Linked DNA regions of Homo sapiens: all the other regions are linked to region 4. Evidence: promoter capture Hi-C in 16 types of primary human blood cells and fetal thymus (Javierre and others, 2016). All regions are on one chromosome and are shown on one strand. Each heading gives the region's core, a stretch centred on a gene start or on the middle of the fragment in contact. The rest is flanking DNA. Distances are from core to core; before and after follow the strand shown.

Region 1 (6,505 bases), core at 1,098-3,597, 850 kb before region 4:
ACCACATCCACTCAGCCCCTTCACCCTTCCACACCACCTCCGGCAGCCACAGCCAACAGGATTCCTTACCTCTGAGCAGGGGCCCCTGACTCATTCATGAGGCCTCCCCCTCCCCTGCCTCCCCCTTACCCCGCTTAGCCTTTTCCCTCCCTCTTTCTCGAATTGTACCCCAATTCCACACCACCTGATCCCAACCCACTTCCATTTCCCTGGGTTTTGGAGTCATGGAATAGTCCTGGTAGCAGGGGAACTGGGTTCAAGTCCGGATCCCTCACCTGCTAGCTGTGTGACCTTTGGAAAGTTATTCAACCACTCTGGGCCTCAGTTTCCCCAACTCTAAAATGAAAGAGCCTCCCCGTCCACTTGCCAGGAGGTCAGTGGGGCTCTAATGACATCACGGATGAAAGCCTGCTCTGCAAACTGAGGAGGGGAATTGACAGCACCGATGCTGAAGCCGGCCTGCCTGGGTTTGAATCCTGCCTTTACCAGCTGTGTGACTTTGGTCTAATTACTTAACCTCTCTGAGCTTAGTGTCCTTATCTATAAAATGAGATAACATATATCTATATATCTAAAAAGATATTTATATATCTATGAAATGAGATAACCAGTCTCATAGGATTGCTGTGAGGATCAAAATGAGTGAATATGCATAAAACACTTCAAACAATGTTTATTATTACTGTCACTTTCCTCATGCCTGAGTGTATATTCAGTAAAAATGTAATAAAGAAACCTTTAAAATTCCCTCCCTCAGCCACCAGCTCCTCCTTGCTTCCCATTTGGCAACCTGTCTGTCCCCAGAGACAGCGGTCACTTGCCTCCAAACACCTTCTTCTCGTCTGTCTGTAACCTGGGTCCCCACCCCCAAATCCAGGGGACAGCTCTTCACCCCCAGTGCTGAAACTTCTGTTTCAAAGGCCAGAAAAGCAGAGACCTGTGTCAACCTAGCAGACAGGAAACCCAGATTGCAGTCTGCCCCCCACCCACTTGCTTGGTGACCTTGGACAAGTCCCTTCCCACGCCTGAATCTCAGTTTCCTCATCTGTCAAGTGGGGTAATAACCCCTGGGGTAACAACCCACCAGTTCCCTGTAAAGGCTCAGTGCATTGGGCAGCTCAGCCGGGGCCGGTACCCTTATTAACATAACACCACCAGCCCAGCACAGTGCGGACTGTCAGTGCTGCCTCCTCGGGCCCCAGGTCATTTCTCCAAATACCCCAGCGTCCTCCCTGCCCCTGAAACCATTCTCATCGAACCCCACTCCCCAGTTCCTCCAGGTAGCAGCCTCCACTGCAGTCCTTCCCCTGTCCCCCCAAAACCAGGGACTGCCTGGCCAGACTCTTGGAGCCGGGCCTCTTCAGGCCTGCAGACCTGGGGCCTGCATCAGCCCTTGACTGCCCGGGGTGCCCCAGTTCCCCCAAGCAGAGCACGGCCCGTGTTCCATGGCCCTCTCCTCTGCATCCCCATCTCCCACCTCTGGGTCACCCTGTCTCAGGCCCTGGCCCTCTGGCTCTCTCCGGAGGCCACCTCTTCCCTCCCTGTCTCGGAGAGATGCCCCCTCCCTATAGGGAGTGACACACGCGTGTGCACACACACACACACTTCATTCACTGCCAGGTGCTGGCATCTCAGTCCCAACCTGTGTCCTTCCCCGTAGCATCCCCTGAATCTGGGTCCTGCTAGACTCTCAGCCTGGCCCAGTCACCGCCCCCATGCTTCTCTTTGGCAAACCTGCCCAGGGGATGACAGTCTCCTCCGGTTTCTCCTGATATCCACTCTCTCCCATCCCCAGACCAGACCCCGGGGCCCTCCTGGGAATGCGGGGTGTTCGAGGCCCCTGAGACCTCTCCTGCCCCCTTGTGTCTTCATGGCCTCCAACCCCTTCCAGGCACTGTCCCCAAAATGCAGGTTCACTGGAGAGACATCAGGCGCCTGAAGATACTGGGGTGCTCCGGCTACCAACCTCCGATCTCATCCTTCGCCCCCACGTCCCAGCACCTCCCCCACTCCATCCCCACGCGCTCCCCCAATATTGGGGTCCCGCCCCCCCATTCTCCCCACCCCCAAGCTCACACTCCGCAGCTCTTGAGTCCGATCCTTCATCCTGCGACGGCTCCTCCTCCTCCTCCTAGTCCTCCTGCCTCTGCTGCTGCTCCGGGTCTCCCGCCTCTGTGCCGGAGGCCGGGGTCTGGGGGCGCCGGGGGGCGCCGCGGCCGCTGCGGGGGGCCTGCGGGCGGGGGCGGGGCCGGGGGCGACTGGCCGAGGGCCGGGCAGGGGCAGGGGCCTGGGCCGGGCTCGGCTCTGCCGGGCTGCGGTGGCGATGCGGCTGCGGCACAGGGTAGGATGGAGGGATGCGGGAGCCGAGCGCGGGGGAGGGGGGCGGAGGGAGGTGAGGAGGAAGCGAGGGCGGGGGGAGCGGGAGCGCGCAAGGAGCAGGGGGCATGCGCAGCACCCGGGCCGGGGGCGCCTGGGGGTTGTAGTCACGGGCTTGGGGGACACCCGAGGAGGGGGCGGGAGAGGCCTGGAGGCGGGTGGGGGTGGGCAGAGCCCGAGGAGCAGGGAGAGATGCGGAGAGCCAAGCGGAGATGCTAGGGTGGCCCGGGGGGTGGGGTGGCCCGGCGGAAAGAGGGGGTGACGGAATGAATTCAGGGAATAACCTGGGAGCCAGGATGTGGATCCCTTTCCAGGAGACACAGATCGCGGCTGTGTTTTGTGTCTGGTGTCTGCGTGAGGCTGCGCGCCGACCACCTCTGGGTGCGAGCCCATGTGTGTTCTTGCAGGAGGCTCTTTGGACACTATAAATAGAAAGACCGACCCTCTGTGTGGTTTTTACGATGCAGGGAACCAGCCAGGTGCTTGCTGAGAAGGACACGGGGCTTGTGTTGCACAGCCTGGGCCTCTCCCGCCGCGGTGGGTCTCGGAGCTCTGCTTGTCTGCCTCCAGGGACAGGGTGCTCACTACCTCCCAGGACCTCTTGGCCCATCTGCAGATGGCTCTGACTGTTGAACATGAAATTTGTCCTTAGTGGGAGGGGAAATCAGGTGCCCCTGAGGGTCTGAGTGACCTCCTGTTCTGATGCCCACCTCTCCTCTCCCCATCCTTACACCACACCAGCTCCTCCCACCCCCTGCAATGGGGCGCCGGTCCCCAATGGGACAGGTCTTGACTCTCAATCGATCCTCCTGCCTCAGCCTCCCAAAGTGCTGGGATTCCATGCCTGGGCCACCGCACCCGGCATTCTCTTGCCAGGTACCCAGTGACCTCCTTGGTGCCAAATCTGTGTCTGATAAACCCTCATCCCACACCGCCAGTCGGGCCTTACCATCCCTGACCTCTCAGCAGCATGTGACCCTGATGAGCCCCTCTTCCTGAAACCCTCCTGTCTGTGGTGCTCCGCCCACCTACCCCCCAACCTGATCTGTGAGTGTTGTCTCCCAGCCTCTTTCCAGGTCCTTACCTTTTTTCCCACAGCCCTTCAACCTCAGGGTTCCCTGGGCTCCGTCCATTCTCTCTTTTTTTTTTTTTTTGAGTTAGGGTCTCATTCTGTTGCCCAGGCTAGAGTACAGTGGTGCAATCTCGGCTCACTGCAGCCTCAACGTCCCAGGCTCAAGTGATCCTCCCACCTCAGCCTCCTGAGTAGCTGGGACTACAGGCACGCGCCACCACACCTGGCTAATTTTATTTTTTGTAGAGACAGGGTCTCACTATGTTGTCCAGGCTGGTTTTGAACTCCTAGGGTCAAGCGATCCTCCTGCCTCAGCCTCCCAAAGTGCTGAGATTACAGGCCTGGGCCACCATGCCTGGCATTCTCTTCCTTCTTTACCTGCATCTTTCTGCACCTCCGTGTCTGCAGTGCCCACATCTGTACCTGCGAGCCAGATCCTCCCCCTGTAAGACAGCCCCTACTATATGCCTAAGCTCTGAGCTGGGCACCAAGAAGACAGAGATTGAAGATGCCACCAGAGCCATGAGTAGATCCATGACTACAGTGGGCATGGCTAGCGCTGACGTGGGGACCTCAAGGAGGTGGCTGTCCCCAAAGTGTTCCTTCCTGTGTTCTCCCTCAGAGATGGCGTCATCTCCATCCACCCAGCCACTCAAAGCACAGAAAGCTGTCCTTGCCTCCCCGCCATTATAATGCCAGCACGTTCTGGGCATCCAACGTGTTGCATTCACTATGCTGGTAGCTCCCAGAAACCTCCCAACCTCACAGTAGCCACTGCTAAGATCCCAAGTGTATAGACAAGGACACTGAGGCTTTGCATGGTCACATAACATATCCAAGTTCACAAGGTTAATAAAGGGCAGGGCTGGGGTCTTGTTTGCTTTTTTTTTTTTTTTTCCAGAGACAGGGTCTCACTCTGTTCCCCAGGCTGGAGTGCAGTGGTGCAATCACACCTCACAGCAGCCTTGACCTCCTGGGCTCAAGCAATCCTCCCATCTCAGCCTCCTGAGTAGCTGGGACTACAGGTGTACACCACTGTGTCCAGCTAATTTTCTTTCTTTCTTTCTTTCTTTTTTTGAGAGAGAGTCTCGCTCTGTCACCCAGGCTGGAGTGCAATGGCGCGATCTTGGCTCACTGCAATCTCCGCCTCCTGGGTTCAAGTGATTCTCCTGCCTCAACCTCCCAAGTAGCTGTGATTACAGGTGCCTGCCACCATGCCTGGCTAATTTTTATATTTTTAGTAGAGACAGGGTTTCGCCATGTTGGCCAGGCTGGTCTGGAACTCCTGACCTCAAATGATCCACCCGCCTTGGCTTCCCAAAGTGCTGGGACTGCAGGTGTGAGCCACTGTGCCTGGCCCTAATTTAACTTTCTTTTTTTCTTTTTTTTGCAGAGACGAGATTGGTCCTAGCCTCCTGGGCTCTCACCTCGGCTTCCCAAGTGCTGGTATTATAGGCATAAGCCACTGTGTCTGACCTTGTTTGTATCTTTTGATTGCAAAGCCCATTCTTCTTTTCTTCTTTCTTCTTCTTCTTCTTCTTCTTCTTCTTCTTCTTCTTCTTCTTCTTCTTCTTCTTCTTCTTCCTCTTCCTCTTCCTCTTCCTCTTCCTCTTCTTTCTTCTTCTTCTTCTTCTTCTTCTTCTTCTTCTTCTTTTCTTCTTCTTCTTCCTCTTCCTCTTCTTCCTCTTCCTCTTCTTCCTCTTCCTCTTCTTCCTCTTCCTCTTCTTCTTCTTCCTTCTCTTTCTTCTTTCTTTTTTCCTTCTCCTTCTCCTTCTTCTTCTTCTTCTTTTTTAAGAGATGGGGTCTTACTCTGTTGCCCAGCCTGGACTCAAACTCCTGGGCTCAGTCTTCCTACCTCATCCTCCTGAGTGGCTGGGACTACAGGGGCACACCACTGCACCTGGCTCACAACCCATTCTTGTAAAAGCATGCTCTTATAGCTCCTCTCTCAACTGTGACACCCAGAGCCGTCTCTAGGCCCTCTCCTGTCCCCACCACCTCAGGTCAGTCTAGGCCCTCACTGTCTTTCACCTGGGCCGTCAGCACAGCCTTCTCTCTCTGGTCTTCCCACTTGAACAAAGCCCCTTTCCTTTACATATGTCTTCCTCCCCAGTCCTTAATGTGATTGCCCCCAAAACAAATGTGACCTGCCGGGCGCAGTGGCTCATGCCTGTAATCCTAGCACTTTGGGAGGCTGAGGCAGGTGGATCACCTGAGGTGGGGAGTTCGAGACCAGCCTGACCAACGTGGAGAAACCCTGTCTCTACTAAATATATGAAATTAGCCAGGCGTAGTGGCACATGCCTGTAATCCCAGGCACTAGGGAGGCTGAGGCAGGAGAATTGCTTGAACCTGGGAGGCGGAGGTTGCAGTAAGCCGAGATCATGCCATTACACTCCAGCCTGGGCAATAAGAGCGAAACTCCATCTCAAAAATACATAAATAAATACATAAAAATAAAAAATAAAAATATAAAAATTAGCCAGGTGTGGTAGCATGTGCCTGTAATCCCAGCTACTCTGGGGGCTGAGGCAACAAGTATGGTTGAACCTGGGAGGCGGAGGTTGGAGTGAGCCAAGATCGTGCCACTGCACTCCAGCCTGGGAGACAGAGCAAGACTCTGTCTCAAAAACAAACAAACAAAAAAATCAGAATGAATAAATGGCATATTCCTGCACCCGTTTTACCCAGGCATAAAGAACAAAGCAAACTGTGAAGGCAGGGAGTTTTGTCTGTTGTGTGTTCACTGCTGGTTCTCCAGTGGCTCCACGGCACCTGGCACATGGTAGGCGCTCAGTAATTATGTGTTATAGGAATGAATGAGTGAATGGCGCACCACTCAAATCTGTCTGCAGCTCTAAAGATGGACACAGGCACACACATATGGCAATTCCTCTCACTGATCAGTGATTTCAAGCTCATTACATTCATGACCACTTATGGGCTACCCAAAGTGAGTCATCTGAATCATGAAGGAACTTCCTATGCAGTCTCCTACCCAGTGCCCCCCACCCTTTTTTTTTTTTTTTTTTTTTTGAGATGGCGCCTTGCTCTGTC
Region 2 (7,350 bases), core at 3,277-5,776, 780 kb before region 4:
TCCTGAGTAGCTGGGACTACAGGTGCCCGCCACCACGCCCGGCTAATTTTTTGTATTTTTAGTAGAGACAGGGTCTCACTGTGTTAGCCAGGATGGTCTCAATCTCCTGACCTCGTGATCCACCTGCCTCGGCCTCCCAGAGTGCTGGGATTACAGGCGTGAGCCACTGCACCCGGCCCAATCCCGGCTAATTTTTGTATTTTTAGTAGAGATGGGGTTTCACCATGTTGGCCAGGATGGTCTCGATCTATTGACCTCGTGATCCGCCCGCCTCGGCCTCCCAGAGTGCTGGGATTACAGGTGTGAGCCACCGCGCCCGGCCCTTTTTTTGAGACGGAGTCTTACTCTGTCCCCCAGGCTGGAGTGCAATGGCACAATATCTGCTCACTGCAACCTCCGCCTCCCGGGTTCAAGCGGTTCTCCTGCCTCAGCTTCCCGAGTAGCTGGAATTATAGGCGCCCGCCACTACATCTGGCTCATTTTTGTATTTTTAGTAGAGAGAGGATTTCACCATGTTGGCCAGGCTGGTCTTGAACTCCTGACCTCAAGTGATCCACCCACCTTGGCTTCCCAAAGTGCTTGGATTACAGGCATGAGCCACCGCACCCAGCCCTCTTTACTTTTTAAAAAATGTTTTTATTTTTATTTATATATTTATTTTTGAGACAGAGTTTCACTCTTGTTGCCAAGGCTGGAGTGCAATGGCACCATCTCTGCTCACTCCAACCTCCGCCTCCCCGGTTCACGAGATTTTCCTGCCTCAGCCTCCCGAGTAGCTGGAATTACAGGCATCCACCACCACGCCTGGTTAATTTTTTGTATTTTTAGTAGAGATGGAGTTTCACCATGTTGGCCAGGCTGGTCTCGAACTCCTGACCTCAGATGATCCACTGCCTCGGCTTCCCAGAGTGCTGGGATTACAGGCATGAGCCACCGTGCCTGGCTTATTTTTATTTATTTTATTATTTATTGTTATTATTATTTGAGACAGAGTCTCCCTCTGTTGCCCAGGCTGGAGTGCAATGGTGTGATGTCAGTTCACTGCGACCTCTGCCTCCTGGGTTCAAGCAATTCTTCTGCCTCAGCCTCCCAAGTATTTGGGATTACAGGTGCCTGCCACCACAGCCAGCTAATTTTTTGTATTTTTAGTAGAGATGGCCATGTTGGCTAGGCTGGTCTGGAACTCCTGACCTCAGGTGATCCACCCACCTTGGCCTCCCAAAGTGCTGGGATTACAGGCTTGAGCCACCATGCCCGGCCTATTTATTTCATTTTTATTTATTTATTTTCTTTGAGAGAAAGTCTTTGTTGCCCAGGCTGGAGTGCAGTGGCTGCATCTCAGCTCACTGCAGCCTCCACCTCCCGGATTCAAGTGATTCTCCAGCCTCAGCCTCCCGAGTAGCTGGGACTACAGGCGAAAGCCATCACACCTGGCAAACTTTTGTATTTTTAGTAGAGACAGGGTTTCACCACATTGGCCACGCTGGTCTCGAACTCCTGACCTCAAGTGATCCGACCGCCTCAGCCTCCCAAAGTGCTGGGATTACAGGCGTGAGCCACCGTGCCTGGCCTTTATTTTTATTTAGAGATTGGGTCTCACTCTGTCACCCTGGAGTGCAGTGGCTCAATCATAGCTCACTTCAGCCTCAAACTCCTGCACTCAAGCAATCCTCCTGAGTAGCTAGGACTATAGGCACCCACCACCACACCTCGCTAATTTATTAAAAATTCTTTGTATATAGAGATGGAGGTCTCACTACGCTGCCGACAGTGGTCTCAAGAACTCCTGGCTTCAGATGCTCCTCCACTATGGCTTCCTAAAGTGCTGTGATTACAGGCATGAGCCACAGTGACCAGCACCCCTCCTCTCTAATTTCCTTTATGGTGTCATCTGGACAATACTCCTTGCAAGCTTACCATGGGCAAGGTATCATTCTAAGCATTTTGTGCATAATACTCAACTACTCAAGCCAACTGCACAGCTGCCTAGCAGTTCATTATGAGTGAATGTTTGTGTTCCCTGTCCATTCATATATTGAAATTCTAACTCTCATTGTGACTGTATTTGGAGACAAGGCCTTTATGGAAGTAATTAAGGCTGAATGACGTCATAAGGGTATGGCCCTGGTCCAGTAGGATTAGCGTTCTTATGAGAAGTGACACCACAAAGAAACAAGCTTACTAGTCACGGTCCCAGCCAGTGTTCAAATCCCAAACACCTGCTCTCTGAGCCCTGACTATTGCTTTGCTAGCATTACACATCTTATGGTTTGGCTGTTAATTCTTCATCACCAGCACCAGAGTCCAGGCTGGCAAAGGGCTAGGAAACCGATCATCTGCCTCCTCTACACCCAGAACCCTGTGTGGTGACCCAAAACAAATGGAAAGAACCAACCTCAGATGAAATTTGAACCCAGGTCTGTAGCCTCTGCCTCCTCCACAGTAGGAGTTTGTGAGAATGTCCACCAATAACTGTTTATTAACTAAATTCCTCCACCTTTCCAACTCCACAAGGCTCAACTATTGCCCCAATATCCCACAGTGGGCTCCCTGTCGTGGCGATGAAGCCTTGCTTTGCCTCACTACTGGCTTAGGAAGGGGATGAAGTTCTGCTGTCTCACTAGGCAAGCAAAGATTCAATTTCCAAAAATCCTAGGCTAGGACCCTGGGGCAGGGATGAGGAGAAAAAGGAGGCACCTCAATCTTCCCATCTCTAAACAAGCAGTCACCACACAGGCCTCACGGCCAGGAGTGACGTAGTGAGCGGATGAACCCTGCAGAAGTGAGCGCTAATCATATCCTAGGCCTCCTACCGGGCCAGTTCACAACCTGATCCCAACCTACTTTTCCAGCCTCAGCTCCAGCGACAGAGTCCTCCTCCCGGCAGCGACCGAACCTCCAGCCACAATTCTCAATCCTCCACCTCTAGATGCAGTTTCCTGGGCTCGGGGAGCCCTTGCCTGCCTTCTCCAACGGGAAAGCCCCTTTACATCCTTCAAGAACCCCCTTCCCTAGTGCCCTCAGGAATACTTTATGGCAGTAGAGAGGTAAGGGCCCCACGCCGCTCTGGACCTCAGTTTCCTCATCAGTAAAATGGGGTCCCTTAAGTTTGTGGGAGTTTGAAGGGCGGTGGGGCCTACGAAGCGCGCCGAGGAGCCGAGAGTTGCAGAAACCCGGAGCTCCTCGCTCCTCGCAACCGTCTGTACGCGGCGCCCCCGCCAGCCAGGCAGCCCCTGGAGGGCAGGACCCCGGTTATAAGCCTCAGAAAACGTGGCTTCGGAGGACGTGGCAAGGAGGACTGAACGAAGGATGAGGAGATGAACAAATGAATGGACGGAAGGCCGAATGAGGGACAAAGGCTTGCAAGATGGCGTTCTCTAGGACCGCGGGAGTGGTGGCCGGGCCTCAGCAGGGGAGGGGGCCGCCGGCGCCTGGGATCTTGCAGCGCGGGCCACGCGACCGGGACAAAAACCCAAAACATGGCGGGCTCTAGGACCCCCGGGACCACACCGCGCCGGGCCAGCAGCCGCGCGGGCCGAGCCTGGGTGTCCGCAGCCCAGAACCGCGGAGACAGCCGGCGGGTTCTAGGACCTGCTGGGCCCGCAATGCGCCCGGGGCCGCTCACAGCCCGCCCCGCCCGCGCTGCTCGCGCTGGGCCAACCCGGCCCGCCCTCGGCGCCCGCAGGGAAACTGAGGCCAGCTCGGATCGTGGCCGCGTGGGAGCTGCCCGGGGCCCTCGCGGCTTCCCGCCGACGTTTCCTACCTGATGAGACTTGTGCTGACTCCGTGGCGTCGGCGTCGGCTCCTCGCACCGACGGAGCCCGGACCCTGCCAAACAGGGGCCGGCGCTAGGACCCAGCGGGGGGCGGGGAGGTGGGACCGGTGGCGCGGCGAGCGGAAGTGAGGGATCTTCCTCAGCTAGGAAGGAAGGGAAAGTTCCCGGGGAACCTCCAGCCTATGGCGGCAGAGAAGCATCTTGCAAGAGGTCTCTGTGTGTGCTGAGGCAAGGGGACGCCAGGCAGGCTGACGGTATACGCCCGCCTTGTGTTAGTCTGGGGCCAGGTCACCGGCAATGTCTTCAAGAACCAGAAGGTGGGAGGACAAAAAGGCCATGCTCAAGCTCTGCAAAACCTAAGTCCAATTATATTCCACAACATTTCCTTTAATAGCAAGGAGTGGGTTTCACGAAGTTTTCTCCATCTGCCTTGGGAAAAGTCCTCCAGAGAGCCCCACGAAAAGTGTCACCAAAGTACTGTGGCCAGGGCTGTAGAATCTTTTTCTCCCTTTCTGCGCCTATTCAATATGCACCGGAACGATTCTAGCTGCTCTTGCCGGAAGTGTGGCTAGCTTAGCGTGCAAAGACGCCGCGTTGTGACCTACGTGGGCGGAGTCAGCCGTGCAGACCTAGAACTTAGCGCCGGAAGTGTGTCTGCGTAAAACTGCGGCTCGGAGGCGGGACAGGCAGTGCTCCCGAAGCGGAAGTTTCGCGGGGAAGCTTTTGCACCTAAGGACACTTCCTGTTTCCTAGTAACAATAGGAAGTGTCCGTAGAGCTGGGAGTAGACTCCTGGCTCATGCCAGCTGCGCCCTCTTTTCTCTACCTCCTTCCTCTTCCCCCCTTCTCCTTTCCCTCTTTCCCTTCCCTCCCACCTCCCGGGAACCCTGGCTGAGTGTGCGTGTGTGGGAGCGCGAGAGCCCCCCGACAGCCACCCCTTGGGGCGCGCGGCTGCAGTTAGGGTAAGGGTCCCAGTGCGCAGGCGCGCTCTTGTTCGCGGTCCCCAACTGACGCGCCCGCGGCGGGAAGGAGAGGGGGCCGCCGGTGCGAGGTAGGCGTCCTGAGAGGAAATTGGCAGACGAGATGAGTGAGGTCAGAGGACTTCATTGGTGGTTGACTAGGGGAGGGGACTTTTGATCAAAGGGGCTTTGTGAGGTGAGAATTCCGGGGGCAGGTTCAGTGAAGGGGTTTACGGTCGGAGACAGTTGTACTGGGGTCCCATGGGAAGAAGAGTCAGAGTTGGAGAAGGACAAGACGATGTAGGGGGCATGAGAGAGCAAGGGCTTTGGGATGAAGACCGCCTCAGTCAGGGGGTTTGCTGTTACGTGAACTAGAATAACAGGCATTGCCGTGTGTTCTGAGGATTGAGTAACACAATGAATATAGTTAGCACAGTGCCTGGCACATGGTAATATAATACTCTTCATGAGTTGCTGTCATCATCAGTATTAAGAGAGGAGGCAGAAGAAAAAAATGAGAAAGACTGGTGAGGGTAAGATCAGGAGGCATGGGAGAGAAAAGGTAGGCAATGAAGTGACATTACAACCTGGTATTGATGTTATTCCCAAGATGGAAGATAGTTTGAGTTCAAGGGAAGTAGATAAAAGAAGTCGCTAAGAGAGTCTTTTGGGGTTTTTTGTTTTTTTGAGATGGAGTCTCGCTCTGTCACCCAGGCTGGAGTGCTGTGGTGGGATCTCAGCTCACTGCAACCTCCACCTCCCAGGTTCAAGCAGTTCTTCAGCCTCAGCCTCCTGAGTAGCTAGAATTACAGGTGCCCACCACCACGCCCGGCTAATTTTTGTATTTTTAGTAGAGACAGGGTTTCACCATGTTGTCCAGGCTGGTCTTGAACTCCTGAACTCAGGTGATCCACCAGCCTCGGCCTCCCAAAGTGCTGGGATTACAGGCGTGAGCCACCACACCTGGCCCAGTTAAGAGAGTCTTAACTCTCTTAACTCTCTTGTCACAAGGAAAAGAGACCTTGTGACACTGAAATGACTCGGGGTGGTGGGGGAACAAGCCAGCCCTTTCCCTGAAGGAGGCCTCTAACCTCTCCTCTCAGGTCCTCAGCTATTAACTGGAGGAAACAGCTGCTTTTTCAGTGCTTCTCAGCTACTCTGTTTAGCTGAGAGATGAAGTAGGAAGATTTGGACTTCTCTTATTGAAAGGCCTAGAGAAGGTTTTGGTGTCCTTTTAAGATGTCACAGAAAATTTTTGTTTCAGGATTGTAGGGAGCAGATTCCTACTGTTCTTAAAGGACAGTAATGCCTTTTGAGTCTGGTCTGAAGAACATAACAGGTCTGTGATCAGAAGTAGGTTGCATCTCTCTCAACTTTAATTTCCTTAGCTATACCTGTAGGGATGACTTAAGCCTAGGGGAGCTCCTATATTTGGGAAGCTTGTGCACAGGGAAGCCTTAAATGATGGTGCCTGCAGATTGGATCTAGTAGAAATTAGGTCCTTGGGCATGGATGCTTGGGGAACCTCTCAGTGACCTCAGGTGAACTTGTTGCTCGTAGAGCCAAGAGGCGAAGTTAATTCAGGCCTTCCTTTTGACCACTGCCCCCTCTTCCTAGGCCTTGGCCCCTCCACCAGAGGAAGGTGCTGCCACGTGTCTGCTCCTTCTGAACCTCCAGGTTTCTGCTACGTTGCCCCATGGAGGACACACCCCCCTCACTCAGCTGCTCCGACTGTCAGCGCCACTTTCCCAGCCTCCCAGAGCTCTCTCGGCACCGAGAACTGCTCCATCCATCTCCCAACCAGGACAGTGAGGAGGCTGACAGCATCCCTCGGCCCTACCGTTGTCAGCAGTGTGGGCGGGGCTACCGTCACCCCGGGAGCCTGGTTAACCATCGTCGGACCCACGAGACTGGCCTTTTCCCCTGTACCACCTGTGGCAAGGACTTCTCCAATCCCATGGCTCTCAAGAGCCATATGAGGACACATGCTCCTGAGGGCCGCCGCAGGCACAGGCCCCCACGCCCCAAGGAAGCCACTCCACACCTCCAGGGTGAGACGGTGTCCACTGACTCCTGGGGCCAAAGGCTTGGCTCTAGTGAAGGCTGGGAAAACCAGACAAAACATACAGAAGAGACACCTGACTGTGAATCTGTACCTGACCCCAGGGCAGCTTCGGGTACGTGGGAAGATCTGCCCACCAGACAAAGAGAAGGCTTGGCAAGCCACCCAGGTCCTGAGGATGGTGCAGACGGCTGGGGACCCTCCACTAACTCTGCCAGAGCCCCTCCTCTCCCCATCCCAGCCAGCAGCCTTCTTAGCAACTTGGAACAGTATCTGGCTGAATCAGTAGTGAACTTCACAGGGGGCCAGGAGCCCACCCAGTCCCCTCCTGCTGAGGAGGAGCGGCGGTACAAATGTAGTCAGTGTGGCAAGACCTACAAGCACGCCGGGAGCCTCACCAACCACCGCCAGAGCCACACGCTGGGCATCTACCCCTGTGCCATCTGTTTCAAGGAGTTCTCTAACCTCATGGCTCTGAAGAACCACTCTCGACTGCATGCCCAGTATCGGCCTTACCACTGTCCCCACTGCCCCCGTGTCTTCCGGCTCCCCCGG
Region 3 (6,906 bases), core at 1,455-3,954, 720 kb before region 4:
CTGATTCCGATCAGCCCCTTTTAGGTCTCAAATTGCACCTTAGTTTTATCATGTAACCTCTGACCCCTCACCTTCACTCCTAACTGGTCCTTCCAGACTTAGAACTGACACTCTCAGACCCAACCCAAGAACCCCAACCTCTGACCTGGATTGACCCATTAACTTTGACCTCCAGCCCACTTTTGACTTTCACCATTTGGTACCTGGGGAAGCAGTGAGCAGCTGACAGCACCCACTGCTCAGACACGAGAGAGCCACCACACACATGGACGCCTTCATAGGTGATGCTGACCTGCCAGGGCCACTGACCGGCGACTGCACTGCTGCCACCTGTGATGCGTGCTTGGGGGGCCACACCGCAGGGAGCTGCCCAGGGAGGAAGGGAAGGGGTCAGGTTGTTAGCCTGGCCACTCCTATGCAGCCCAGGAGCTCTGATATAGAGCTTGGGAAGTGGGTTCACAGGAGTCAACACCCCTTTGTCCCCTCCCAGGCATGGGCAGTTGTGCCCCTTCTGTCCACTACCCATTACCTAATTCAGGTCTCATGGCAGCTTCTCTCCTTGCAAGCCTTCCATCCATCCCGCCCCTTACAAGTCTGAAGATTTTCATAAACCCCCAATCTGACCAGGCCACAGCCCTGCTTAAACCCTTCTTGGCTCCACGCGGTCCTTAAGATACATTCCAGACAGACCATGGCACCGCCATCGGACCCAGCCGTCCCCTCTGGACCCTTCAGTTGTGTACATCAGGCCACACACTTGTTTACCCGGGACCTTGGCTGATCCAGGTCACTCTACCTGGTATGCCCTTCCCCATCCTTACTGTCTGGCAAACTTCCCTTTGCCTGTGGATGCTTGATTGGAACAGCAGCCCCTCCGTAGACAGGCGGGCTTCTGCTGGCTGAGTTGGGCATTGCCTCCGAGCCCAGCACCCCCCAACCTCCACCATGCTCCCCGATGCTGCCCAGTCTCACAATTGTTCCGGAGTCCACAACTGTGTCTGTTTCCACCACACCAATCTGGGCATTCCCTAGGGGCAGATTCTCATGTCTGCAGTGCCTGTGGCGTCGTGGACATATATTCAACAAACCAACAGCAGAACTGGGCTCCTGTGATGTGAATGTCTAGTTTCCAGGACAGCCCCAGCCCCACCCCCATTGAGGCCACTTTGGAGTGGAGCCCAACTGCTCTTCACAAAGTCATCTAGGAGCAGAGAAAATTGCAGACCAGATCTTTCTCTCCCTTATCATCATGACAATAGCCACTATTTAGAGAGCCTAGCGGCTGTGCCAGGCCCTGGAGGGGCTTTCGCTTCCTCATCTCCCTGCATCCTCTCCACAGCCCCAGGAGACGGACATGACCAGCTTCATTTTAGAGGTGAGGAGTCTAAGGCTTAGAGAAGTGGGGGGACTTGGCCAATGACACACAGCCAGTGCATGGGGAAGCCAGGATTGAAAGCCGGTCTGACTCAGAGCTGGGTTGGGTGCCTTCCAAGAAAGGAGACCCTTGGTTTGGTTCCCTCAAAACCACCTCCAGGATGGGAACGGTGGCTCACACCTGTAATCCCAGCACTTTGAGAGGCCAAGGCAGGAGGATCGCTTGAGCCCAGGAGTTCAAGACCTGCCCGGCCAACATAGTGAGACCCACATCTCTACCAAACAAAAACAAAAACAAAAACAAAACACAACTAGCTGGGTGTGATGGCATGCACCTGTAGTCCCAGCCACTAGGGAGGCTGAGGTGGGGAGGTGGGAGGATCACGTGAGCCCGGGAGGCTGGATCACTGAGACTGCAGTGAGCTGCGATCGGGCCACTGCACTCCAGCCTGGGTGACGACAGACCCAGACCCTGTTTCAAAAGACAAAAACCAAACCAAAAAAACCACCTCGATTGCCCCACTTTGGGAGTCAGACGTGGATCTGAATCCCAGCTGCACCTTCACTGGCAGTGTGCCCTGGGCAAGTCCCTGCTTCTCTGCCCATAAGGTGAGGGCTAAAACCCCCCACTCTGGGAGCCCTAAGAGAATCTAGTTGGAAGGCAGCCCAGCTGAAGGCCAGGCACTGGTTAAACCCCAGGGGAATCCGATCCAAGTCACCTCCCCCTCCCCTCCTCCCTCTCCGAGGAAAGTCTCACCTTCTGCCCCTTCCGCTCCTAGAAAGAAAGAGAAAGAGGAGGGGTGAGTAGGGAAGACTCGGGTTCCCTGACCCCTTAGTACCCACCACTGCTCCAGAGGGCTGGCCCCTTCCCTGACAGAGCCAAGGTGGGAAAGAGAGGCCAAGAGCTAGGGAGGCCGGGGGTTTTCTTGGGCCCCAGACAAGGGCACACCCCAGAAAATGATCACGCCGGCTCCCTCCAGTGCATTGTCCCCACCCTGCCCCCACGTCCTCACTTACCTGTCCCCGACCGGAGTAATCCAAGATAGAGCAGAATGGCCACAGCCCCCAGCTGCCCAGGCCCCAGGACCCCCTTCTGGGCCATGGCCCAGGACAAGGGCCCCTGGGGCAGACTCCAGGCACGCAAGGTAGGAAGCCTTGGGGTGGTGTCGAAGGCAGGACCCAGATGTTGGCTCAGAGGGAAGGATCCCAGAATCCGGGCTGGAAAGGGGCAGCAAGTGTCCAAGGCTGGCCTCTAAGGCAGGGAGCGGCCGCAACGGGAGACGCCTGGAGTATCCGAAGCGAGCAGTGTGGACGAGTCACCAGCACCGTCTGGCCACGCAGGGTCCTCCCAGGAGTGGCTGCACCTACCTGCCCGCCCCTCCCCTGGCCCCGCCCACTGGCTGGGCTCCGCCAGCTCCTCTTGCCACCAAAGTCATGAGTCCTTTCAGAGCTGCAGGCCCGTGTGTGTGCATGTATGTGTCCGTGTGTATGTGTGTGCACATGCATAGGCCTTTTGTGTGTGTGTCCCGGTGTGTAGTGTGTATGTGGTGTGTGTGTATGCCTGTGTAGGCTGTGTGTGTCCTCTTATGTGGTGTGGTATGTGTGTGTGTGTGCATGTACAGGCTGTATGTGCACATGTGTAGGCTGTGTGTGTCCCTGTGTGTGTAGTGTGTGTGTCTGAGTGTGCGTGCATGCACGTGCATGTGGTTTGTGTGTGTGTGCAGTCTCCCTGGAATGTGACGACTCTCCTCCGCCTCAGGTCTTTCAGGTTATCTCAGGCCAGTTATGCCCCCCAGGGCCTGGCCCCAGCTTTTATTATCTGGAGCCACAGCCACTCCTCCCTTCTTCCCTCCCTCCTTAGGCTGGTTATGGGAGCTTAAGACACTATGGTCTGTCCCCTGCCAGGCCCTTTCTGCGATGCCTGCACCTCATGGGTGGTGGCGAGCTTGTGGAGCAGCACCAATCATCCCACAGACATTTCCTAAGTGCCTATGATGTTCCCAGGTGTCCAGGACAAAACAGGCACCAGCCCCGTCCCCCTTGAGCCCTGAGCTCATGGTGAAGTAGGGGTGACACACTTCAATCAAATAATCACAAACAGGCTGGCAAGGTGGCTAGTCGGCTTTGGGAGGCTGAGGCTGGAGCATCACTTGAAGCCAGGAGTTCCAGACCAGCCTGGGGAATATAGCGAGGCCTCATCTCTACAAAGAAATATAAAAATTAGGCAGGCATTGTGGCGCATGCCTATGGTTCCAGCTATTTGGGAGGCTGAGGCAGGAGGATTGCTTGAGCCCAGGAGTTCAACGAAGCATTGAGCTATGATCACGCCACTGCACTCCAGCCTGGGCAACAGAGGGAGACCCTGTCTTAAAAAAAAAAATTGCAATTACACAATAATTTCAAGCTAGGAATAGTGATGAAAAAGAATGGCGTGAGCACACCACAGCCTGGCAAAGGCTGGCATTGTGAAAGGGTCCTCGAGGAATTGCCTTGGAAACTGAGACCGAAAGGGATTATAAAAGGTGGTAAGGCGAAGATGGGGGGATGGGGTGCAGAGGGCAGAGGCTCAGGGAAAGAAGGCTTGCCGTGTGGCTGCGGTGGGAGTGAGGCATGTATCCTCCTTGAGGGCCACTCTGGCCGTTCAAAACACCTGTTGAGGCTGGGTGTGGTGGCTCACGCCTCTAATCTCGGCACTTTGGGAGGCCAAGGCACACGAATCACGAGGTCAGGAGTTTGAGACCATCCTGAACAACATGGTGAAACCCCATTTCTACTAAAAATACAAAAATTAGCCAGGCGTGGTAGCACGCACCTGTAATTCCAGCTACTCAGGAGGCTGAGGCAGGAGAATCGCTTGAACCCAGGAGGTGGAGGTTGCAGTGAGCCGAGATATTGCGCCATTGCACTCCAGCCTGAGCGACAGAGCGAGACTCCGTCTCAAAAAACAAACAAACAAAAAAAATTGTGGAGCTTGGATGTGGTGGCTCACACCTATAATCCCAGCACTTTGTGAGGCCAAGGTGGGAGGATCATTCTCAAGATCAGGAGTTTGAGACCAGCTTGGCCAACATGGTAAAACCCCGTCTCTCCTAAAAAATACAAAGAAAATTAGCCAGGCGTGGTGGCGCATACCTGTAATCTTAGCTACTCGGGAGGCTGAGGCAGGAGAATTGCTTGAACCTGGGAAGCCAAGATTGTGCCACTGCACTCCAGCCTGGGCAACAGAGGGAGACTCCATCTCAAAATAAATAAATAAATAAAATAAATAGGCCAGATGCAGTGGCTCACGCCTGTAAATCCCAGCACTTTGGGAGGCTGAGGTGGGCGGATCATCTGAGGTCAGGAGTTCAAGACCAGCCTGGCCAACATAGAGACACCCCACCTCTACTAAAAATACAAAAATTAGTTGGGCATGGTGGTGGGCACCTGTAATCCCAGCTTCTCAGGAGGCTGAGGCAGGAGAATTGCTTGAACCTGGGAGGTGAAGGTTGTAGTGAGCCGAGATTGCGCCATTGAACTCCAGTGTGGGCGACAATAGCAAAACTCTGTCTCAAAAAATTAAAAATAAATAAGTTAAATAAAAATACAAAAATTAGTCCGGCATGGTGTCTTGAGTCTGCAATCCTAGTTACTTGAGTCTGAGGCAGGAGGATCGCTTGAACCCAGGAGGTGGAGGTTGCAGTGAGCCGAGATTGCACCACTGCACTCCAGCCTGAGCATCAGTATGAGACTCTGTCTCAAAAAAAAAAAAGTGGAGATGGGGGTCTTGCTTTGTTGCCCGGGCTGGTCTGGAATGCCTGGCCTCAAGCGATCCTCCCAAAGTGCTGGGATTACAGGCATGAGCTGCCGCACCTCGTCTCTGGTTTTGCGTTACTTTTTAATTGTAGATTCATTGGCTGGAAACCACCTTCCCTTTTTCTGTGCTCAAACATCACTGCTATGACATCTTCCCAATCCCAGCCAGGGATGTCCACATGTGTCCCCACTAGATTGGGAGGACTTTGTGGGCTTATATATCAGACCCCAATTGTGCCACGACTTAGTAGCCACCAGGGAACACGGGTTGAATGAATGCAGGGAGGTGCAGGTAAGCAGTGGGTAAGGGAGTGAGGTTCACATATAAGGGACCCAAGTTCTGGGCAGAATGTGAAAGTGGCAGACCCTTGAAGGGCCCAAGTGTTGTGTGTGTGCAGGGGATACATCGGAGCATTGTGCATTGAGGTGTGTCTATGGCGGGCAGCGAGGGCAGCGGGTCTGAGCAGGGGATGAGATGTCCAGCACGTGCCGAGGGTGCTGACTCCACTGGGCAGGTGACACACAGCCAGCTGGCCACCCGACTTCCCTGCCCTGGGACAGGAATGAAGGAATCGCTGCCAGGTTATCAGGGTACATTTCCTGAGAGCCCAAGGCCTGACTCAGAGGCCGGAGGAGGGAGGAGGGAGGGGACCTCCCCCTTGGGCTTCCCGCTTAGCCTCTGATGCCCAGCCCCTCAGCCTGCCCACGGCGATGCCACAAGGCCACACAGGTACCTGTGTTTACACCTTTATTGTCCGCTCCTCCCACCACCCCCAAGGATTCCTGGGTTCAAAATAGCCCGGGCACTGAGGCCCAATTAGCCAGAGCCGCTGCAATCTCGGTGGGTGGGGCCCTTGAGGTTCCAGCCGGCTGGGCCACATTCCAGCCCCACTGGGCGGGAAGTAGAGGGTGGAGAAGGGGGAAGTGGTGCTGGGACCCTAGCCCCTCAGCTCTGGATCAGGAGAGTCAGCAGGAGCAGGAAGTAGACTGCATGCGGGGATCCCGAGGCCTTGGCCAGTTCTGGGGGGCAGAGATTGCTGCCTCCAGTGGGCCAGTGTGGGGAGCCACTGGGGGGCAGGAAGTTGGCCTCTCCCACTGTCTGGGAGATCCAGGCCTCTTCAGGACCAATGGCAGCAAACAGCTCCCGGCTCCCTTGAACAGCCATGCCCACGAGGATCCAGGACCCTTCCGTCATCTGGCACAGGAGGGGCGGTGCTGAGGTCATCTGCAGAGTTGGAGCGAGGCCACGTGGGTCTGCTGCCCTTCCTCTTGGTCCCCTCCCCCTTTCCCCAGGGTCTGGCCACGAAGCACTCTGGTCTGCATCCCTAGACATCCAGGTCCCTGGTTTCTCTCCCGGGTCCAGCTAGGGTCCCATTTGGGGCCAAATACCCAATAATTCCAATCCTGGCCAGGTGCAGTGGCTCACACCTCTAATCCCAACCCTTTGGGAAGCCAAGGTGGGCGGATCATTTGAGGTGAGGAGTTTGAGTCCAGCTTGGCCAACATGGTGAAACCCTGTCTCTACTAAAAATACAAAAATTAACCAGGTGTGGTGGTGCATGCTTGTAATCCCAGCTACTAGGGAGGCTGAGGCAGGAGAATCTCTTGAACCTGGGAGGTGGAGGTTGCAGTGAGCCAAGATCACACCACTGCACTCCAGCCTGGGTACCAGAGCGAGACTCAGTCTCAAAAAAAAAAAAAAAAAAAAAAAAAAATTCCTTGGCCGGGCGCAGTGGC
Region 4 (6,724 bases), core at 61-2,560:
ATTGAAATCATATCAAGTATTTTCTCATACTACAGTGAAATAAAGCCAAAAATCAGTAGCAAAAGGAACTTTGAAAACTGTACAAATACATGAAAATTAAATGACATGCTCCAGAACAACCATTGGGTTAATACAGAAATCCAAACAAATATTTAAAAAATGAAGATGAAAACACAATATTTTGGAAACTATGAAATGCAGCAAAAGCAGTGTTGAGGGAAGTTTACAGCAGTAAATACCTACATCAAAAAAGTAGAAATATTTACAGTAAACAACCTAATGATACACCTCAAGAAACCAAAAAAGCAAGAACAAACTAAGCTCAACATAAGCATAAGGAATAATAAAAATCAGTCAAGGTGCAGTGGCTCATGCCTGTAGTCCAGCACTTTGGGAGACTGAGACAGCTGGATCACCTGAGGTCACGAGTTTGAGACCAGCCTGGCCAACGTGGTGAAACCTCTTCTCTACTAAAAAATACAAAAATTAGCCAGGTGTGGTGGAGTACACCTGTAATCCCAACTACTCAGGGGGCTGAGGCAGGAGAATTGCTTGAACCCAGGAGGCAGAGGCTGCAGTGAGCCGAGATGGCACCACTGCAGTCCAACCTGGGCAACAGAGTAAGACTCCGTCTTAAAACAAAACAAAACAAACAAACAAACAAAGAAATAATAAAAATCGGAGAAGTAAGCAAACTAGAAACTTAAAAAAATACAAAGGGCCAATGAAATAAAACTTTTTTTGAAAACATGAAACAACATTCATAAACCACTAGCTAGACAAAAAATAGAGAAAAGACCCAAATAAACAATGTCAGAAATGAAAAAGCAGACATTTCAACTGATACTGCAGAAAGAAGTATGAAAGATAATCAGAGACTCCTAAGAACAATTGCATGATAACAAACTGGAAAAATTAGAGAAAATATCTAAATTCCTGGACACATACAAACTATCACTATTGAATCAGGGAGAAATAGAAGACCCAAACAAACCAATAATGAGAAATGAGATTGATACAGTAATAAAATGTCTCTCTGCAAATAAAAGCTTGGGGCTTGATAACTTGACAGCTGAATTCTACCAAACTTATAAAGAAGAACTAATATCAATTTTTCTCAAAGTATTCAAAAAATAGAAGGGGGGGGAATTCTTTGTAACTCATTCTATGAAGCAAGCATTACCCTGATATGAAAACAATACAAGGATACAATGAAAACAGAAAGCTACAGTTTAATATGATGAATAAAGATGTTAAAATCTTCAACAAAATACTAGCAAACTGAATGCAACAGCACATCAAAAAGATAACATGCCACAATCAAGTAGGATTTATCCCAGGGATGGAAGGATGGATTTCCACACACAAACCCATAAACACAATACATCACATTAACAGAATGAAATACAAAAACCATACAATCATCTCAATAGATGCAGAAAGAGCATTTGACAAAATTTAACATCTTTTCATGATAGAAACGCTCAACAAACTAGGCCTACAGGAACATACCTCAACTTAATAAAGGCCATATATGACAAATCCACAGGTAACATTATACTAAATAAGGAAAAGCTTAAATCTTTTCTGCTAGGGACTAGAACTAAACAACGATGTTCATTTTCACTATTTCTATTCAACAAAGTACTGGAAGTCCTAGCCGAAGTAATCAGGCAAGAGAAAGAAATAAAAGGCATCTAAATAGGAAAAGTGAAAGTTTAATTGTTGCTTTGTGCAAATGACATGATCTTATATTTAGAAGAACATAAAGATGCCACCAAAAAACTATTAGATTTGATAAATATGATCAGCAAAGTTGCAGGACACAAAATCAACATACAGAAATCAGGAGCATTTCTACATAATAAGTAAGTGGCTGAAACAGAAGTCAAGGAAGCCATCTCATTTACAATAGCTACAAAATATTAAAATACCTAGTAATAAATTTAGCTGTGGTGGTGAAAGACTTCTACAAGGAGAACTAAAAAACACTGATGTAAGATACTGAAGAGTACATAAAAAAATGAAAGGACATTGCATGCCCATAGATTCCATGCCCATAATTTTTTTGTCTAGCTAGTGGTTTAGCCCATAGATCAGAAGAATTAATATTGTTAAAATGACCAAAGCAGTCTACAGATTCAATGCAATCACTATCAAAATGCCAACTTTTTCACACACAAAAGAAGTCTAAAATGTGTATGGAACCAACAAAGAGCCTGGAGTCAAAGCAATCCTGAGCAAAAGAACAAAGCTGAAGACATTGTACCACCTGACTTCAAAATATCATACAAGGTCAGAGCAACCCCAAAAGCATAGTGTTGGTATAAAAATAGACACAGAGACCAATAGAGCAGAATAGAGAATTCAGAAAAAAACCACATATTTACAAGTAACTGACTTTCAACAATGGCACTAAGAACATACGTTGGGAGAAGGATACCCTCTTCAATAAATGGTATTGAAAAAACTGGATAGCTATATGCATAAGCTATTCAATTCATTTGAAGCTAGACTTCTATCAGTATATATATATATATATATATATATATCAGTATATATATATACTGATAGAAGTCTAGCTTCAAATATATATATTTATATATATATATCTCAACTCAAAAAATATATATGATATATGATATATATATCATCTCAAAATAAAAGATTGAAACACAAACCCATAACTATAACACTACTAGAATAAAACATAAGAGAAACCCTCCTGAACATTGATCTAGCCAGATATTTTATGGCTAAGACCACAAAATCACAAGCAACAAACAAATACTAGAAAATGGGACCATATTGAACTACAGAGCTTCTGCACAGCAAAGGAAGCAATCAACAGTGATGAGACAATTTGTTGAATGGGAGAAAATATTTGCAAATTATTCATGTGACACTATCAGTTATATAACTAAAAGATAGGAAAACCTATGTGTACACAAAGGCTCCCTGCAGCACTATTCATGATAGCTGAATGGGTAAACAACCGAAATATCAACCAGTGAGAATAAGGAAAAACAATACACCATGGAACACTACATAGCCGTAAAAAAGAATGAGTTCATGTCCTTTGCAGGGACATAGATGAAGCTGGAAACCATCATCCTCAGCAAACTAACACAGGAACAGAAAACCAAACACCGTATGTTCTCACTCATAAGTGGGAATTGAGCAATGAGAACTCATGGACACAGGGAGGGGAACATCACACACCAGGGCCTGTCAGGGGGTTGGGGGCAAGAATAGGGAAAGCGTTAGAATAAATACTGTGGGAGGCAAGCCACCCAGGTGCCAAGGCAGGAGACCGAAGGCACAAGTTGTTCCAGTATAATAAAGAAAATAATTAGAATAAGAATAGTTATATTAGAAATAGAATATAGACATGATTATATATGAATATTATTAATCATTAGTTTGTAGCATTACTCTTTTATTAATAACTTCTGTCCTACAATTATAACTTAGAAAAACCAGTCCATACAGAGTCAGGAGCTGAAGGGACATGATGAGAAGAAGTGACCAGAAGGCGAGTGTGAGCCCTCTGTCACGCCTGCACAGGGCCACTAGAGGGCTCCTTGGTCTAGCGGTAACGCCAGTACCTGAGAAAGCACCTGTTACTTAGCAGACCTTGGTCTAGCGGTAGCGCCAGTGCCTGGGAAGGCAGGCAAACTTTACTTAGCAGACCGGGAAAGGGAGTCTCCCTTTCCCTGGGGGATTTAGAGAACACTCTGCTATACCACCTCTTGTGGAAGGCCTGACAGCAGTCAGGCCCTCCCGCAGCCATACGAAGGCCTAAACATCTCCCTGTGATGCTGTGCTTTAGCGGTCACGCTCCTGGTCCACTTTCATGTTCCGCTCTGTACACACGGCTCTGCCTTTTAGATAGCAGTAGCAGAATTAGTGAAAATATTAAAGTCTTTCCAAGAAATGCATAGAAGAAATAATGACATAAGCTGTCCCCTCTCTCTCTCCACCTTGGCTACCAAATAGGGAAGGGCCCCCTGTCTGGTGAACACATGACTCGCATGACCTTACCTATCATAGGGGATGACTCACACTTCTAACCCTGCCCCCTTTCCTTGTATACAATAAATAGCAGCGCGGCCAGGCATTCGGGGCCACTACTGGTCTCTGCGTCTTGGTGATAGTGCTCCCCCGGGCCCAGCTGTCTTTTCTTCTATTTCTTTGTCTCATATCTTTATTTCTGTGATCTCTTGTCTCCACACACAAAGAGAAAACTCACAGGTCCTGTAGGGCTGGACCCTACAAAATACATAATGCATGCAGGGCTTAAAACCTAGATGACGGGTGGATAGGTGCAGCCAACCACCATGGCACATGTATGCCTATGTAACAAACCTGCACACTCTGCACATGTATCCCAGAACTTAAAGTAAAATAAAAACCATACATATATATGTTTTTACAATGAAATATATTCAGCAATCAAAACTGAGGCACGTAATGACACATGGTACAAGAGGAGTAAACTTTTCAAAAAGCTAAGAAGAAAGCAGAAGCCGGAGACCTTATACTGTAGAATTCCAATCATAAGACATGTCCAGAAAAGGCAAATCTCTAGAGACAGAATATAAACTAATGGTGTCTAGGGCTGGAAGAAAATGAAGAGTGACTACAAATAGCACAAAGTCTTTTTAGAGATGAACAAAAATAAATTCGACTGAGATTATAATTGCATAACTCAGCAAATACACTATGAGGCATGCAATATATACTTAAAATATGACATTGTGGCTCATCAGGCTGTGTTCTGAGCACAGGACTCCAGCGAGGTGCCTAAAGTCCCATAAATATATTCCAGGAGTCCAGAGAGCAGTGGCTGTTTTATTTATAGTATTTTTGAGTATAGCATTTTTAGTGTGTGATCAAGATATTACGTTATATACAGAAATTATCATAGTTGAAAATCTTACCATTTTTCCTTAAAGCATCAAATACAATTTATAAAACACAAAAGGGAAAGAAAGCCTATGGTGCTGTCTGCATTTCATCCTGGCATAGGTGAAACTCTAGCCTCTCATTTGGCTTTTGGTGGCATACGTGGGCAGGCAGCCATGGTTTTTCAGTGGTTTTGGCTGTAGTAGGGCAGTCACTGGATAAAAGTTTTCTGGTTTTATTTTTTTGCCTTTGCCTATTGGTGTATCTGAGTTGCCAGTTTCTTTAGCTCCAAGACTACAGTATATGGGCAAAGAAACCCGTGTTTCACCCCACTCTGTTATCACATCTTTCTTCGGTTCACGAACAGTATGCTTGCTTTCTTCCACCTTTTAGAGCTTTCTCCATTTGGTTTCATGTATAATGTCCAGGGATTTTAGTTGTACTTATTGGGAAGAATAGAGACATGTATGTCTAGTCTGTCTTCCCCAGAACTGAAATGCTTGGTTGTGAATGGATTAAACTGAGCTATCTCTAATTTGCCCATTATCCAAGCAGAAATATCAAGTTACTGATATTAGTTCCCATCTGAGGCTCTACTCCAGGTGGTGGCATCCCTTCCTGGGCACTGGGGCCTTGGCTGAGGCAGCAGGGAGAGATGCTGCCACTCAGGTCTTCAGCTCCCCTCTAGCATAGTGATGTCACTACCTGTGGTGGGGAATATGATTAACAACAAAGTCTCTTGCCAACTCAGGAAATCTCTCCGGAAAGATAGAAGAGAAAGAAAACAGTTTCATTGAAGAATCATTAAACGGCATTGTGATGCACAAAACAGATAATAACCTAGCACATTGCAAGAAAGAAGGAAATCTCACCCTTGTGCATAGCCAGGCAGCTACAACCAGTGCATGCGTGTTCCCGAGATAAACAGTAACCAGTCCTCAGGGAAGGGACTTGACAGCACTGTTTTTACATGTCCCTCAAGGGTACCCACTGTGTTCACTAATCACATTTATGACAAGAAAAGACCAGTGTCTCATAGTTTATGGCAGGAGTAGGTTAGTAAGTTAGAGCCAGGCACTGGCGGAAGCTGGGCTCCTACCCTCTCATGGGAACTTGCTCCCTTAATGATTCCATTTTAGAGAGATGGCTCCCAGGCCCTTGAGAAAGACAGTCCTGGTTGGAAGTTGGTAAGCGGCTTACTTAACTTTTGGAGACTTCCATACGTCACAAGGGGACAGAGAAGAAACTCATAGGGACAAGTTTTCTTTTAAAAATGCTCTGAAAGAAAAAGGCAGGGTTCCTTTTTCCTCTTTCACTGGGACAAATTTGTTTAATTGGTGATTACCCTTGTATCTGCCAATGGTTCAGTGACCCCCCATCTTCTACTCTCCAGTCTTACCTCAGTTCAGCCACTCCCTCCTGCTCTCTGGTACTCAGCCCTGTGCCTTCCAGCCACCTTTCTCCTTATATCATCAATCCTGTTTCCTAAACTCAGGGATTTCCATGCTCTGTCGGGATCCTGCCTCACTGCACTGCCTCCTGGACGCTCTCTGCAGGCTCTGAGTTGGGGCAGCCAGGGGGTCCCCTCCCTTGGATTCAGCCTCCAGGCCACTGTCCTGTGCCCCTATCAGATACTTTCTAGCATCTGGACACATTTAGGTCACATAGTGGATCTGGCTTTCTACTTGTTTGATGCTGGAGGGAGTCTGGATCTTGTTCTTTCACATACATAGAAGGCAAAGCTCAAAACTGATTTTGAAATTCTTTGTTATTAATTTTGGACTGAGATAAATTCTCTATTACTTTATAGTGACAC

What was found. Contacts are between HindIII fragments. The CHiCAGO score rates a contact against its expected background, and 5 or more counts as called.
Region 1: the fragment with the promoter of STX1B here is called in contact with a fragment that was not itself captured in region 4 in 5 of 17 cell types (fetal thymus, endothelial precursors, total CD8 T cells and 2 more); the score reaches 5.9 in fetal thymus.
Region 2: a contact is called between the fragment with the promoter of ZNF646 here and a fragment that was not itself captured in region 4, in 3 of 17 cell types (naive CD4 T cells, erythroblasts and non-activated CD4 T cells). The highest score is 5.7, in naive CD4 T cells.
Region 3: a contact is called between the fragment with the promoter of PRSS8 here and a fragment that was not itself captured in region 4, in 4 of 17 cell types (fetal thymus, naive CD4 T cells, total CD4 T cells and 1 more). The highest score is 7.4, in fetal thymus.

What each region holds. Positions count from the first base shown.
Region 1 is chr16:31,008,291-31,014,795 of GRCh38, forward strand. STX1B (syntaxin 1B) reads right to left here and starts at 2,348. Exons shown (of 10, transcript NM_052874.5): 1 at 2,077-2,348. The coding sequence starts at 2,106. RefSeq lists an enhancer at 2,384-2,885. The HindIII fragment of the contact is 27,284 bases long and covers 1-6,505 here.
Region 2 is chr16:31,069,896-31,077,245 of GRCh38, forward strand. ZNF646 (zinc finger protein 646) reads left to right here and starts at 4,527. Exons shown (of 3, transcript NM_014699.4): 1 at 4,527-4,736; 2 at 6,351-7,350. The coding sequence starts at 6,430. ZNF668 (zinc finger protein 668) reads right to left here and starts at 4,345. Exons shown (of 3, transcript NM_024706.5): 1 at 3,764-4,345. RefSeq lists enhancers at 3,221-4,021, 3,313-3,607, 4,227-4,760, 4,266-4,405, 4,761-5,293 and a silencer at 3,496-3,955. The HindIII fragment of the contact is 1,677 bases long and covers 4,494-6,170 here.
Region 3 is chr16:31,133,023-31,139,928 of GRCh38, forward strand. It overlaps PRSS8 (serine protease 8), which reads right to left and starts at 2,705. Exons shown (of 6, transcript NM_002773.5): 1 at 2,392-2,705; 2 at 2,132-2,149; 3 at 204-366. The coding sequence starts at 2,476. It overlaps PRSS36 (serine protease 36), which reads right to left. Exons shown (of 15, transcript NM_173502.5): 15 at 5,904-6,394. The coding sequence ends at 6,116. RefSeq lists enhancers at 820-1,766, 5,454-6,147, 6,148-6,840. The HindIII fragment of the contact is 17,481 bases long and covers 1-6,906 here.
Region 4 is chr16:31,855,976-31,862,699 of GRCh38, forward strand. No RefSeq gene overlaps it. Among named protein-coding and RNA genes, the nearest start is that of ZNF267, 14 kb to the right of the region's middle. RefSeq lists a silencer at 3,509-3,598. The HindIII fragment of the contact is 526 bases long and covers 1,048-1,573 here.